3 separate regions of the Homo sapiens genome follow, and regions 2 and 3 are each linked to region 1. The links are contacts of gene promoters, found by promoter capture Hi-C in blood cells and fetal thymus (Javierre and others, 2016). All regions are on one chromosome and are shown on one strand. The core of a region is centred on a gene start or on the middle of the fragment in contact, and the rest is flanking DNA. Distances in the headings are between cores, read along the strand shown.

Region 1 (4,299 bases), core at 1,033-3,532:
TCTCTTGGAGCGCTTTGGGGAGAAGGGAGGGGGACTGGGCTCATTTGGAGGAGCAAAAGACAGCCCTCGCGGAAAAAGAAAGAAAAATCAGCAAAATCGCCTTAGCAGTTCAACCAAAGGTCAACAGCAGCGTTTCCCCAGCAGCTGACAGGTCAAATGGGCAGGAAACAACTGCGGGGAACAAAGCCCCCCGCTGTCCGGCAGGGGCGAACCCGGCTCCTCCGCACTGAACAGTTTTGTTGTGCTTTTTGGAGGGGAGAGGTTTCCGCCCCCTTTCCAGCTCCCTTCCTCCCGGGTGGACAGGTCGGAAGAGGAGCGGAAAGGAAAGGAAGGGAGGGAGGCGGCGAAGGCGCCTGCGGGGGGGAGGAGCGGCTCTTTGATGGGTGTGGGGGGGTCTGAACTGCCTACCGGGCTCGGAAGCGCAGACCCTACCCGCGCGGAAGAATGCGCGGAATGCGGCGGCGGGAGGCGGAGGCGCAGCGCGGCGGGGGGCGCCCGGACCCCACGCGCCCTGCCCGCTCCCTAGCCCGAGGGCCGCGGACCCACCCTGCCCTGCAGGTGTGGCGGGCGCCAGGTCCCTCCAGGGACTCGGACAGCACGCGATTTTTCCAGGATTTCCGACTACCAAATGTGACAAGACAGTCTCGCCGCCGAGAGTTTCGCCAGGGCTCGCTAAAATCCGGCACGCGCCGCCATCAGATAGTCGAAAATCCGGGCTGAACAAAAGGTGATCATTCTCCGCTGCCCGGATTTGCAGGCGCTAGAGGACCGGTTCCGCCCGGCGTCCCCCAGATACCCAGTCCTTCAGCCTCCCGCTCCCAGAGCCTGGATCTAGCCCGGGACGGGGATTGGCCACCTTCCAAGCTGAGCTTGGAGTTGGGCAGCGGGAACGCAGATACAGATCGCTCTACACAGTGTGTGCAACCCAATCTCCCTTTCTGCATTTGCCAGGGTCTTGTTTTCAGTGAAACTGGCAAGGCCAATTGTACCTCGGCGCCCACCCCTCTTCACCTTTTCTCCACCTCTGGGATTCTCCCGGTCCGGCTCAGTGTAGGGCCCCAGCACGCCAAACCAACAGGCCTATCTTGTCCCCACGCGCCCCGTGGTACTTGGAAACTGTTCCCGGGACTCAAGATGGACCGCGCAGAGGAGTCGCTTCATCCTCGAGGCTAGGACCGTTAATGTCAATAAACGGGGCCTCGCTAGGACGGTGCGGAATTGCAGGTGACCGGAGAAACCCGTCCGCACTTTCCCTGAGGACTTGAACCTCGCACTTGCACAGAAACCTTGCAAACCCCTACACACCAACACACACAAAGGGGCGCGCGGGGATCCCCGCAACCACGAATCACGCCGGGGACTCCTTCCCGTGCCAATAAGGCGCAGGCCGCCAAGACCCCCTCCATCTCCCCGACTCCAGCTAGCGCCCGGAGCCCTCGTTTACCTTTGAGCAGGCAGATGTCGGTGCGCTCGGCGTTGCGGCGCAGCGCCTGCACCACCAGCGACACGGTGCTGTCCTCGCGGAGGCTCTCGGCGCGCGGGCTGCGCTCGTCGTAGACGATGACCGCCGAGTAGAGGCCGGAGCGCAAGCGGGCGCGTACCTCCTCCTCGGCGGGCAGGATCTGCTCCAGGCTCACGGAGCCCTTAGCCCGCCGCCGCACGATGGTGTTACAGCGCACGTTGACCGAACCTAGGATGTAGCCCGCGCTGTGCGCCAGGAACGGTCTGCAGTCCAGCAGCAGGCACTTGCCGCCGCTCGGCAGCCCCAGGGTGCCGTGGCTGCCGCTGCCGCCCGCGCCGCCGCCATTCTCGTCCCGGTTCATCAGCCTTTTGAGCACACTGCAGTCCATCTCCCGCAGCTCCTCCATCGTCACCATGGTCGCCGGGAACCGAGGCGGCTGGGCGCGCGAGGAAGAGAAGAGAACCCGGGCCGCCTAGGCTGCAGAAAGGGGCGGGCGAGAGCTAAGAAGGGACGCCTGCAGAAGTGGCCGCAAACTTGGTCCTCAAGGGCTCCCGCGGGAGAGCCTCTTCTTCCCTGTCCCCTTCCTCCCGCAGCCTCGCGGTCACATAGCAGTCGGAGCGGCCTCGGGCGCCCAGCCGGGCGGCGCGCAGAGCGGAGGGGGAGGCGCCGGTGGAGGAGAGTGTGTTTACGAGAGAGGACCGCGGACTCTTTTCGGCGACGGCCTCCCGTGTATTTTTGCCGGTCGCGCGGCTCCTGTCGCCACTGGCGCCAGCGCTGCCCTGCCTACGCTCCTCCGGCGCTCAGCGCACTGCCCCAGCCAGAGTTTTCTCCTCGGCTTAGAGGTTTATTAATGCTCCTCCGCGCTCCCGGGGGAGGGGGCGCTAGGTACTACCCCGCCAGGCCCCGCCCCGTTCCATTCCGGGCCCCGCGCCGTCCCCCGCCCCCCGCGCTGTCCCCCGCCCCCCGCGCTGACTCCCCGCCCCCTCCGGGCCCCTCCTCCCACCCCCTCCCCGGAGCTTGAATGGAGCGCGGCCGCTGGCTCCCGGTCACGGGAACTCGACGTCACAAAGAGCGGAGTAAACAGGGCGCCGGGTGCTCGCCATCAGGCCCATTCATAAAACCGAGGCCGAGAGGAAGAGGGAGGCGGCCTCCGACCCGCCGCCAGCGGCGGGCAGCGCCCGGACTTTGTGAATGGAGCGCGCGGCGCCTTTCGCCGTCTACCCGCGGGCCCAGCCTGCGCCGCGCCTCCAGCCCGACACCGGCACCTGTGCCGCCGCTGCACCCCGCCGCTAGGCGGGCGGCGCCAAAGGAAATAGCCGGCTGAGGAGGCCAGGGCTCGGGTTTGAGCTTTCATCCCTTGGCACCTTCGCGCTTCCCCGCGTGACAGCCCCGTAGGTTTTTCCCGGTTACCCAAGTGGAGAGGGGACCGGAGCGCTGCTGCCCACCCAGCGGGGCCTGACACCTCCTAGCCCCAGACTCCCCGTGCGCTTTCGGCCCGGCCAGTCCTTTCTGAATATGCGATTCCTGAGACGTTAGCGTATGCATTAGCGTGATCGATTTTCATCTAAAGCCATTAAATCAGTTTTATAGCTTCCCCAAGAACGTGGGCAACCCCCTGCTTGGAAGATGAAAGAGAAAGTCCTCCCGCCCGAAGCCCAGGATCGGAGTGAGGTGTGGGGTTTGTTGCTTTACTACCCAAAGGGAGGCATTAATTGCCGGAATGGTGTTCCGAGGGAGGAGAGCAGGCTGCGCTCCTGTCCACGCTTCCTAAAAGATGTTTATTTAACCCTGGTCGGGGGAAAAACAAGGTTTTCGGGTTTGGGAAACGTCTTCACCCTATCTTGCATAGTTGTGAATTATCCTTTCAGGAAATGACAGGGTCCACATTTGTTGCGGAGCTGGACCCTGGAAAATGTACCCGCAAAGAATGACCTTTTGAAAGGACTTCAGCAGCTCTGGGTCCGATTCATGTTTCTGGGCATCCCTTTTTCCTGGTCACGTAGCAGCCCTCCCCATCCCCATTTCTCTTTTGCATTTAATTTCCCAGAGGCGGCTTTTGGCTGGGGGTTTGTGCACGCACGCGGTGGGGACCGTGCAGAAGCCAAAAATCATTCGCCCGACATCTTGCCAAGTCTTGTTAGTGAGAATTAATCACAGAGCAAGGGAGTTACAGGACTCGCTCGCAGTTTCGGAGGCTGCAGAGTAGCGTATTCCATTCCGGGGCGCGCGTGGAAGCCCGACCCAGGCAGCGAGGGCACCGGTACCCGCCGGGTCTCTCCCGCCCAAGCTCACCCTCTCCCCATGCCTTTGTTCCGGGCGGAGCGGCTTTCCCGAGCTCTCACCTCCGGTCCCGGGGGCCATCCCTGCACTCCCCGACCGGAGCTCGGCGGAGCCTCCACTTCCGAGACCTTCGACTGGCCTCGTCCCCCACTGGGCCCCGAATGCCTCGACCCCCGGGCCCTACTCGGATGAGCTGTAGGGGCACCGCTTGGGCAAGGTGATATTTCCTTTTGCTCCGGGCTCCAAAATGGCTTACGATGGCACTGCACGGATCCTTTCTCTTTTTAAAATTTAGTATTTTATTCATCATGGATTTTTTGCATTTTTTTTTCTTTTAAAGAGGCATTGCATCAAGATATTTCTTTTGATTACTGACTTTTCGGCGCCCTTCTTAAATGTTGCGCTCAAGGCTTGTGCTCACCCTAGTCCAGGCCCTGGAAGGAGCCACAACTGTGGACTGACCGAGGCTGCCCGGTGGCAGGACCCTGGGCGTCGGGCACTCCGGGTGGGAGATCAGTGGTCAAAGCCGCACGGCGTGGCCTCCCTGTGGGGAGGGC
Region 2 (4,080 bases), core at 784-3,283, 520 kb after region 1:
AGTTGTTACGTTATAGAGAAAGACAGTTTCATTCTTTGCATAACTGAGTCTATAAACTCAGATTCACCCTCTACGCAGCATTCCTTGGTGTGAAAAAAACACAGGATTCAGAATCTGAGACTTGGCTTTGAGTTCTGACTCTATCACTCTAAAGTTTTGTGAATTATTGGGAAATGCTCTCTCACAGCTCAGAAGACTTCTCTGCTTCATTTTCTCTCATTCCACTCTCCATGAAGAGGAAGAACAGCTGTTATGACCCCCTACACCCTCCAACAGCTGTTACATCTTCCCTCAAACTTCTGAAGACCAAACAATGCTGCTCTTTAAAAACCACCCTTCACCACCAAGCTTGCATTTGTCCAGTGCATTCAAGGGTGACAAACTCAATGGACACTGGCATCCCTGCTCTAAAACTTGACCCAGAACACTTTCATGTCCAGGAAGATTTTTTTTTATTCTAGAGAATCTATGCAGTGTACATAGCCAACTTCCATGTGCAACCTGCTCCTGTGCTCTTGAACTGGAAAACATCTTGGAGTTTCCAAATCTCTCAGTGCTGCCCATGCTGAGCTCCTCCTGATGACAAAACAAGGGAATCACTTTCCTTTAAGGTTTTGTTTTTTGGTTTTTTGGTCTTTCATTGTTGTTGTTGTTGTTGTTATTTAGATAGCATCTATCTCTGTTGCCCAGGCTGGAGGGCAGTGGCATGATCTCAGTTCACTGCAACCTCTGCCTCCTGGGTTCAAGCAATTCTCCTGCCCCAGCCTCCTGAGTAGCTGGGATTACAGGTGCATGCTACCACGCCCGGCTAATTTTTGTATTCTTTAGTAGAGACAGGATTTCGCCATGTTGGCCAGGCTGGTCTTGAACTCTTGACCTCAAGTGATCCACCCGCCTCAGCCTCCCAAAGTGCTGGGATTACAGGTGTGACCCACCGTGCCCAGCCTTTTCCTTTAAGTTTTCCCTCTGGATAGGTGTGTACCCACCTGTGGTGGTGTGACTTTAGTCAGGATTTCCTAATTCAGGTTCCAGAGCACTGGTTCTGCTGGGATAATACATGTTATGGAAAAAGTTGAGCTTGACATAGTCAGACTGGCTTGGGAAATTCTGGTATAAGTAAAATCAAAGGGGTTTCTTTACTCCAGGAGAACCTTGAACATGCTAACGTATGCTGTTTTCTTCAAAGAAGGGTGATATGGTTTGGCTCTGTGACCCCACCCAAATCTCACCTTGAATTGTAATAATCCCCATGTATCAAGGGTGGGACCAGGTAGAGATAATTGAATCATGGTGGCAGTTTTCCCAATGCTGTTCTCATGATAGTGAGTGAGTTCTCATGAGATCTGATGGTTTTATAAGGGGCTTCCTCTTTGCTCGGCAGTCATTGTCTTCCCTGCCACCTTGTGAAGAGGCGCCTTCCACCATGATTGTAAGTTTCCTGAGGCCTTCCTAGCCATGCAGAACTGTGAGTCAATTAAACCTCTTTCCTTATAAATTACCTAGTCTTGGATATTTCTTCATAGCAGCATGAGAACGGACTAATACAGAGGGAATATGGAATGCAGCGTGTCCCAAACTTCTGAGACCCAGACTGACATGGAGCACCTGCTTTCTCAGACTATTATGAATGGGCTGGATTCCCGTGACAGTGATCACACCTACTGTTTCCCCGTGATTGACTAGGGTGGCCCATCCTGAGAGAACAGGGCTCCTTAGGACTCTTTCCTCTCAAACAGCACCAACTACTATCCAATATGCTTTTCTGAGACTCAGTAGACACTTAAATATGGCTAAAGCTATCTGCTTTGAGATAATGAAAATAGCTGATGCTCTCTGAGCCATGTTCTGCCACATTCTACCATCTATGGCTGTGACTGACAACGTTGGCTGTATATTATGACAATCCACATTAGCTTTCTAGGGCTGCTGTCACAAAATACCAGGAACTGGGTGGCTAAAAACAAGAGAAATGTATTTTCTCACAGCTCTGGAGGCCTGAAGTCCAAAATCAAGGTGTCCTTCTGAAAGGTTCTGCAGGAAAGCTCATTCCCTGCCTCTCTCCTAGCTCCTGGGAGTTGTTGGTAATTTCTGGCATTCCTTGGCTTATAGATGCATCGTTCCAATCTTTGCCTCCTCTGTTGCACAGCATTCTCCTTGTGTCTCTTCACATTGTTTTGTCTCTGTACCTGTCTGTTTTGTGTCTCTTCTCCTCTCCTAATAGGGACACCAGTCCTATTGGATTAAAGGCCCACCCTATTCCAATATGACCTCATCTTAACTAACTACACCCACAATGAATCTATTTCCAAATAAAACCACATTCTGAAGTTCCAGAAAGGACATGAACTTGGTGGGGGAGATCACAGTGGGGGCAATTAAACATAGCACATCACTTAAGGAGTTTTTATTTATTTATTTATTTAGACGGAGTTTTGCTCTTGTTGCCCAGGCTAAAGTGCAATGGCATGATCTCGGCTCACCACAACCTCTGCCTCCCGAGTTCAAGCAACTTTCCTGTCTCAGCCTCCCGCGTAGCTAGGATTACAGGCATGCTCCACCACGCCCAGCTAATTTTTGTATTTTTAGTAGAGATGGGGTTTCTCCATGTTGGTCAGGCTGGTCTCAAACTCCCAACCTCAGGTAATCCACCCGCCTCAGCTTCCCAAAGTGCTGGGATTACAGGCGTGAACCACCGCGCCTGGCCCACTTAAGGAGTTTTTAGAACTCACACGCCAGGACAGTTGTAATGATCCCAGAATCTGGCAATGGGACCCAGTCATCAGTGTTCCTTAAAGATCTCTGAGTAATTCTAATGTGCAGTCAAGTTGAAATGACTGTGCTATGGACTTTATATAAATATTGTCCCATATAGTCCTCATAATAAACCCAAGAGGTGCTATTCATATCCTTATATTATGGATCAGACGTCTGAGACTTAAAGAGGTTAAAATAACTTGACTGTCGCTACACAGGCAGTAAGTGATCGAGCTGGGATTTCTGGAGGCATTTAGCTCCAGAGCCGGATCATATAAGCCTTTCAGACTCAGAGCTGAGCTTTTAGTAGCCTCTGAGCTCTGAGAGAAGGCACCACAGCCCCCTCTGCAACTGAGGAGTTACACTGGCCTCTGCATGCGGCTTTCTTTAGGAAGCATTCCCCTTTCTGGCTTTGATCCTAGCCCCACTCTTCCCTCTCCAGTCCCAGCAAAACCCCTCCATCTGGCACCACTCTGGGAAGTGGGAAGACAAAAGTTTCTCTAAATCGCCACTTCCAGCCTGCCATGCGACTGCAGCTTTTAATAGTAACTACTGCGCTCTGATGAAAAAGATTGTTGTTTCCGTAACGGGAAAAGTAGCTCCAATCCAAGGACGCTGCCATAGCCCTGACCAATGAATGTGGAAGAGCCCTGAACAGGGCTAACTAAAAGGCCTCTCAGTAAGCGGTTGTCAAGCCTTAGGGTGCCTCTCTGGACAGTTCCCGGTACTGCACCACTGCCCAGAGACCAAGCCAGGCCCGCTCCCAGCTCTGCAGACCCTGCCACTTTTGAATGGGTCAGGCAGATCAAACTTGCTATTTACAGAGGCCAGAGTGGTACCACCTAGGGGATGTCATCTGTAACTTTATTTTTATCTCTGATGATGGCTTTAAAATACATTCATAGAGAAACTGGATCACTGGTATATTGTTGATGCAAGTGTAAAATGGTACAGCCACTCTGGGGAAAGCTTGGCAGCATCTTAAAAAAATAAACTTACAACTATTATACCTCTTAGCCATTACACGCCCCCTGGGCATTTATTCCCAGAGAAATGTAGATGAGCTCACACAAAAACATGAACACAAACATTCACAGCTGCTTTACTCATAATAGCAAAAAAAAAAAAAAAAAAAAAAAAAAAAAAAAAAAGGAAATAGCCCAGTCCTTAAATGGGTGAATGGTTAAACAAACTGGCTTATCCATACCATGGAATACTACTGAATAATAAAAAAGAAAATGGACCAGCTACTGTGGCTCATGCCTGTAATCCCAGCACTTTGGCAAGCCAAGGCAGGAGGATTGCTTGAGCCCAGGAGTTCAAGAC
Region 3 (3,858 bases), core at 701-3,200, 540 kb after region 1:
CCATCTTCAACCACAAAAACAGACTGCATGGAAAATAGAATGCTACTTTGAACCTTTTTAAAATAAGTCATTTTTATCAAAACAAAGATGATAAAGTACCATAAATGGAAGCTTAACTGCTTGTCATTTTCTAAAGGTCCCTTTTGAGAAATGTCAGGAAAGATACATGATTGTCTCTTGAACTAGACAAGAAATCTTCCAGTCACTGTGGTAGGACCAGTTTGTACATAAACACACCACATTTTACTCCCTGGGTTTCCAAGATGCCTCCATAGACTTATTATTCTTTGAGGTGGAAAGATATTGAAATACAATATAAAAGATGAAAAGATAAGAAAAGGTGCACAATGAAATCTTAGACTTGATCCAAAAGGGAATGGAAACTCACATTCAGACCTAATGAAAAAATATGCTCTGGTCAGATCCATAGCAGAGAAAAAAGAGTGCAAAAGAGGTAGCTGGAAAAACAATGAATTCCTGGTCTATGACCGTGGCCTCAAAAATAGTAAAGACAACGCTGAATGCACAGTTTAAGACGAGCCTGAATTTAGGACTGATTCCATGTTTGAAATAAAGGGCACAGGAAGACAAACATTTCTGCAGGCTCTCTGGCTTGTGGCTGTGGGAAAGTGATGACGCTGATCGGGGGAGCTGAGCTGACAGCATTTCGGGTGTGCTAAGGGGTCTGCAAGGGAGACGCACGTGGAACAGAGTCAAATCAGTCAGCCTAGACATTGAGAGCCTCATCTGAGAACCAAGGGAACCAGGATCCAGACCAGTGTCCTGCTGTCCACTGAAAAGACTAAAAGACACAAGATGGTACATTGCATGGTATTAGCTACTCAGCTACTGGGATCCCCGAGTGCCTGACAGGTGACACAGGGGCTTGGATGACAAAGAAAACTGACTCATGGACCCTGATAAATATTTATTGAGCATGTTTCACCGGTAGGTCTGTCAATGGGCTGAGCACTGTGATTCATCAAATGGCCTCAAACTTTTCAATAGTCAGAAGATCTAGATTCAGCCGGGAGCAGCGGCTCACACCTGTAATCCTAGCACTTTGGGAGACCAAGGTGGGAGGATCACTTGAGCCCAGGAGTTCAAGATCAGCCTGGGCAACATAGTGAGACCCTCTCTCTAAAAAAAAATAAAAGATAAAAAACATTATCCAGGCATGGTGGTGCATGCTTATTCTCCCAACTATTCAGGAGGCTGAGGGGGGAGGATCACTTGAGCCTAAGAGGTCGAGGCTGCAGTAAGCAATGATCATGCCACTGTACTCTAGCCTGAGCCTCAGAGTGAGAGCCTGTCTCAAAAAAAAAAAGATCTGGATTCAAATTTAAACTCTGGCCAAGCATGGTGGCTCACACCCATAATCCCAGCACTTTGGGAGGCTGAAGTGGGTGGATCATTTGAGGTCAGGAATTCAAGACCAGCCTGACCAACACGGTGAAACGCTGTCTCCACTAAAAATACAAAAATTAGCCGGGTTTGGTGGCAGGCACCTGTAATCCCAGCTGCTCGGGAGGCTGAGGCATGAGAATCACTTGAAACCAGGAGGCAGAGGTTGTAGTGAGCCGAGATGGCACCACTGCACTCCAGCCTGGGTGACAGAGTGTAACCCTGTCTCAAAAAAAAAAAAGAAAAAAAAAATTAAACTCTGTCCCTTATCAGCTGGTAAGACCTTGGTCACGTTGTTTGTTCCTTTAAGCCTCAGTTTTCTCTTCTGTAAAAATGAGCATCTGGATTAAATGCCTGAACTCCCTTCAGCTCTGAAACTCTGTGGTGTATTCTCTGAGGACATTACCTCTCTAAGGGACCCAAATTAAACAGCTCACACCATCCATCATTTTTCTGTCTGAGGTTTTATTTCCCTAATCAGATTTGGGTAAATTTTCAGCCTCTCTCTGTCTCTTACTTCCAATCCAATAAAACCTGTATGGATTTGTTTTGTATTTCATCTAATGTCATTATTCATTCTAAGAGTCACTGCCTGACCATTTCCCTGCCTATAGCATAATTAGCTATTAAAAAGCTACACTGGCATGGTTTTCAAACTTGCATCCTCTTTTTCTGAGGTGGATTGATTCTAAACTGATTAAAATATCTCAGAATTTCCAATACAATTTTTAAAATGCAACAGATTTTCAAGACTGCCTCATGACTCTGCCAAGCCAAGGGAGTTAGCTGCCAACTCTCTCTGACTGCCAAGGAAGCCAAATAAATAATCCTGATGGTGGTTTTAAAATGAGAGGCAACTGCCCATTTCTTAGGTTGACAGTGCCACCCTACACATTGACTTCTCCAGGGTTTGTAAGACACCAAGGGTTATGTTTCAGATTTTCCCCAGAAGGACAGAGTAGCGTCCTGGACCAGTCTGCTCAGTTAGCAGATAGAAATCATTCACCATCTTCCCTTGTTTCACATACATTCATCCTCTCAATAAAGAAGTGCTCCTTTCTCTTCCAAAACCCTGCTGAAGTTCACTGCCTCAGTGAAACCTGAGAAGAATCTCTCTAGTCATCGACCCAGAAGCTGACTCCTAACCTCCTTGCCTAGAATCCTGGACCTCATGCTTTGAGCCTTACATCAGAGGACTTTTTTTTTTTTGAGATGGAGTTTTGCTCTATTGCCCAGGGTGGAGTGCAATGGCATGATCTCTGCTCACTGCAACCTCTGCCTCCCGAGTTCAAGCGATTCTCCTGCCTCAGCCTCCTGAGTAGCTGGGATTACAGGCGCCAACCACCATGCCTGGCCAATTTTTGTATTTTTAGTAGAGATGGGTTTCACCATGTTGGCCAGGCTGGTCTCGAAATCCTGACCTCAGGTGGTCCACCCACCTCGGCCTCCCAAAGTGCTGGGATTACAGGCATGAGCTACTGCCCCTGGCCTTCAGTAGACTTTTGCTCTAACCTTTCATATATCTTCCACATGAACCAGGACCATCATCCTAAAATCAGGCTATGAGATCATCCAACCTAACATAGTCAATATCCCCACCCATCATACTTGCCATCACCCAGATATCCACGTCACTTACATTACTTCCAGCTCTTCGATATGTCCTATAAATGCCAATACAATTAACCAAGTGATTTCTTGGAATCAACAATACTGGCTTGGACTACTTACTGTGTTTTGATCCCTTTGGTATTCTCAGAACCAGGACTATCTGCAGAATCTAACACCATCATAGGACCAGACAGAAATGGTTATTGGTGGGTGTCCCAGGCACCGAGACCCCACCAACCTGAGTGACTACCTGGCATAGCCAGGAGCAAAATGCAGAGCATCCAAACCATATGGAATTAGGGGTGTCTGTTCTTTGTCTTCATGCCTTTGGAATGTGCGCTTTTCTTGTCTTTTTCTGTTAAGTTGTAGGACTCTCAAGCTAAAAACCATGTGTATTCCCTTTCAATGCCACAATGGAATTAACTCCTCATTGTCATTTATCAAACATTGTTACCACGTTAACTATGAAAATGACAAAGAAGACAAAGGTTACCATATCCTGGTGAGGTTAATAGGTATTGAGGACCTGCATCTCAAGACTCCAACCAACGTGACCGTCAAGATCACATCTGTGATTTGTAGGATGAAGGATTCTGTTTCCACTCACCAGCATCTCCTGACAAGCTGCGGGACTGGAACCCCCTTGGGCTGATAGAATGACCCTCCAACCACGGCTGCACAAAGCTGGTAACAAGAAAATTTCCACAGCAATGTCTGTGACTTTAGATCAGAGTCAACACCTCTGTTTGGAGGCAGGTCCTCCATATTTAATACAAAGCTTTCTTTTCTGGCCTGGCATAAAATTATTTGGAATGTTTCTACCCTAAGAAAACAGAACATAGA

Evidence for each region. The method cuts DNA at HindIII sites, captures the fragments that hold promoters and counts their contacts. A CHiCAGO score of 5 or more calls a contact.
Region 2: a contact is called between a fragment that was not itself captured here and the fragment with the promoter of DUSP4 in region 1, in 4 of 17 cell types (megakaryocytes, endothelial precursors, M2 macrophages and 1 more). The highest score is 6.9, in megakaryocytes.
Region 3: a fragment that was not itself captured here is called in contact with the fragment with the promoter of DUSP4 in region 1 in 2 of 17 cell types (endothelial precursors and M1 macrophages); the score reaches 8.5 in endothelial precursors.

The regions. Positions count from the first base shown.
Region 1 is chr8:29,348,402-29,352,700 of GRCh38, forward strand. It overlaps DUSP4 (dual specificity phosphatase 4), which reads right to left and starts at 2,283. Exons shown (of 4, transcript NM_001394.7): 1 at 1,445-2,283. The coding sequence starts at 1,877. It overlaps LOC124901924 (a long non-coding RNA gene), which reads left to right and starts at 2,573. Exons shown (of 2, transcript XR_007060876.1): 1 at 2,573-3,133. RefSeq lists silencers at 401-570, 2,141-2,460, 2,651-2,790 and enhancers at 1,281-1,782, 1,311-1,460, 1,783-2,282, 2,981-3,050, 3,091-3,200. The HindIII fragment of the contact is 21,736 bases long and covers 1-4,299 here.
Region 2 is chr8:29,871,722-29,875,801 of GRCh38, forward strand. The region is part of intron 1 of LOC105379354 (a long non-coding RNA gene); the gene reads left to right. Among named protein-coding and RNA genes, the nearest start is that of LINC02209, 48 kb to the right of the region's middle. The HindIII fragment of the contact is 3,375 bases long and covers 347-3,721 here.
Region 3 is chr8:29,893,674-29,897,531 of GRCh38, forward strand. No RefSeq gene overlaps it. Among named protein-coding and RNA genes, the nearest start is that of LINC02209, 26 kb to the right of the region's middle. The HindIII fragment of the contact is 3,682 bases long and covers 110-3,791 here.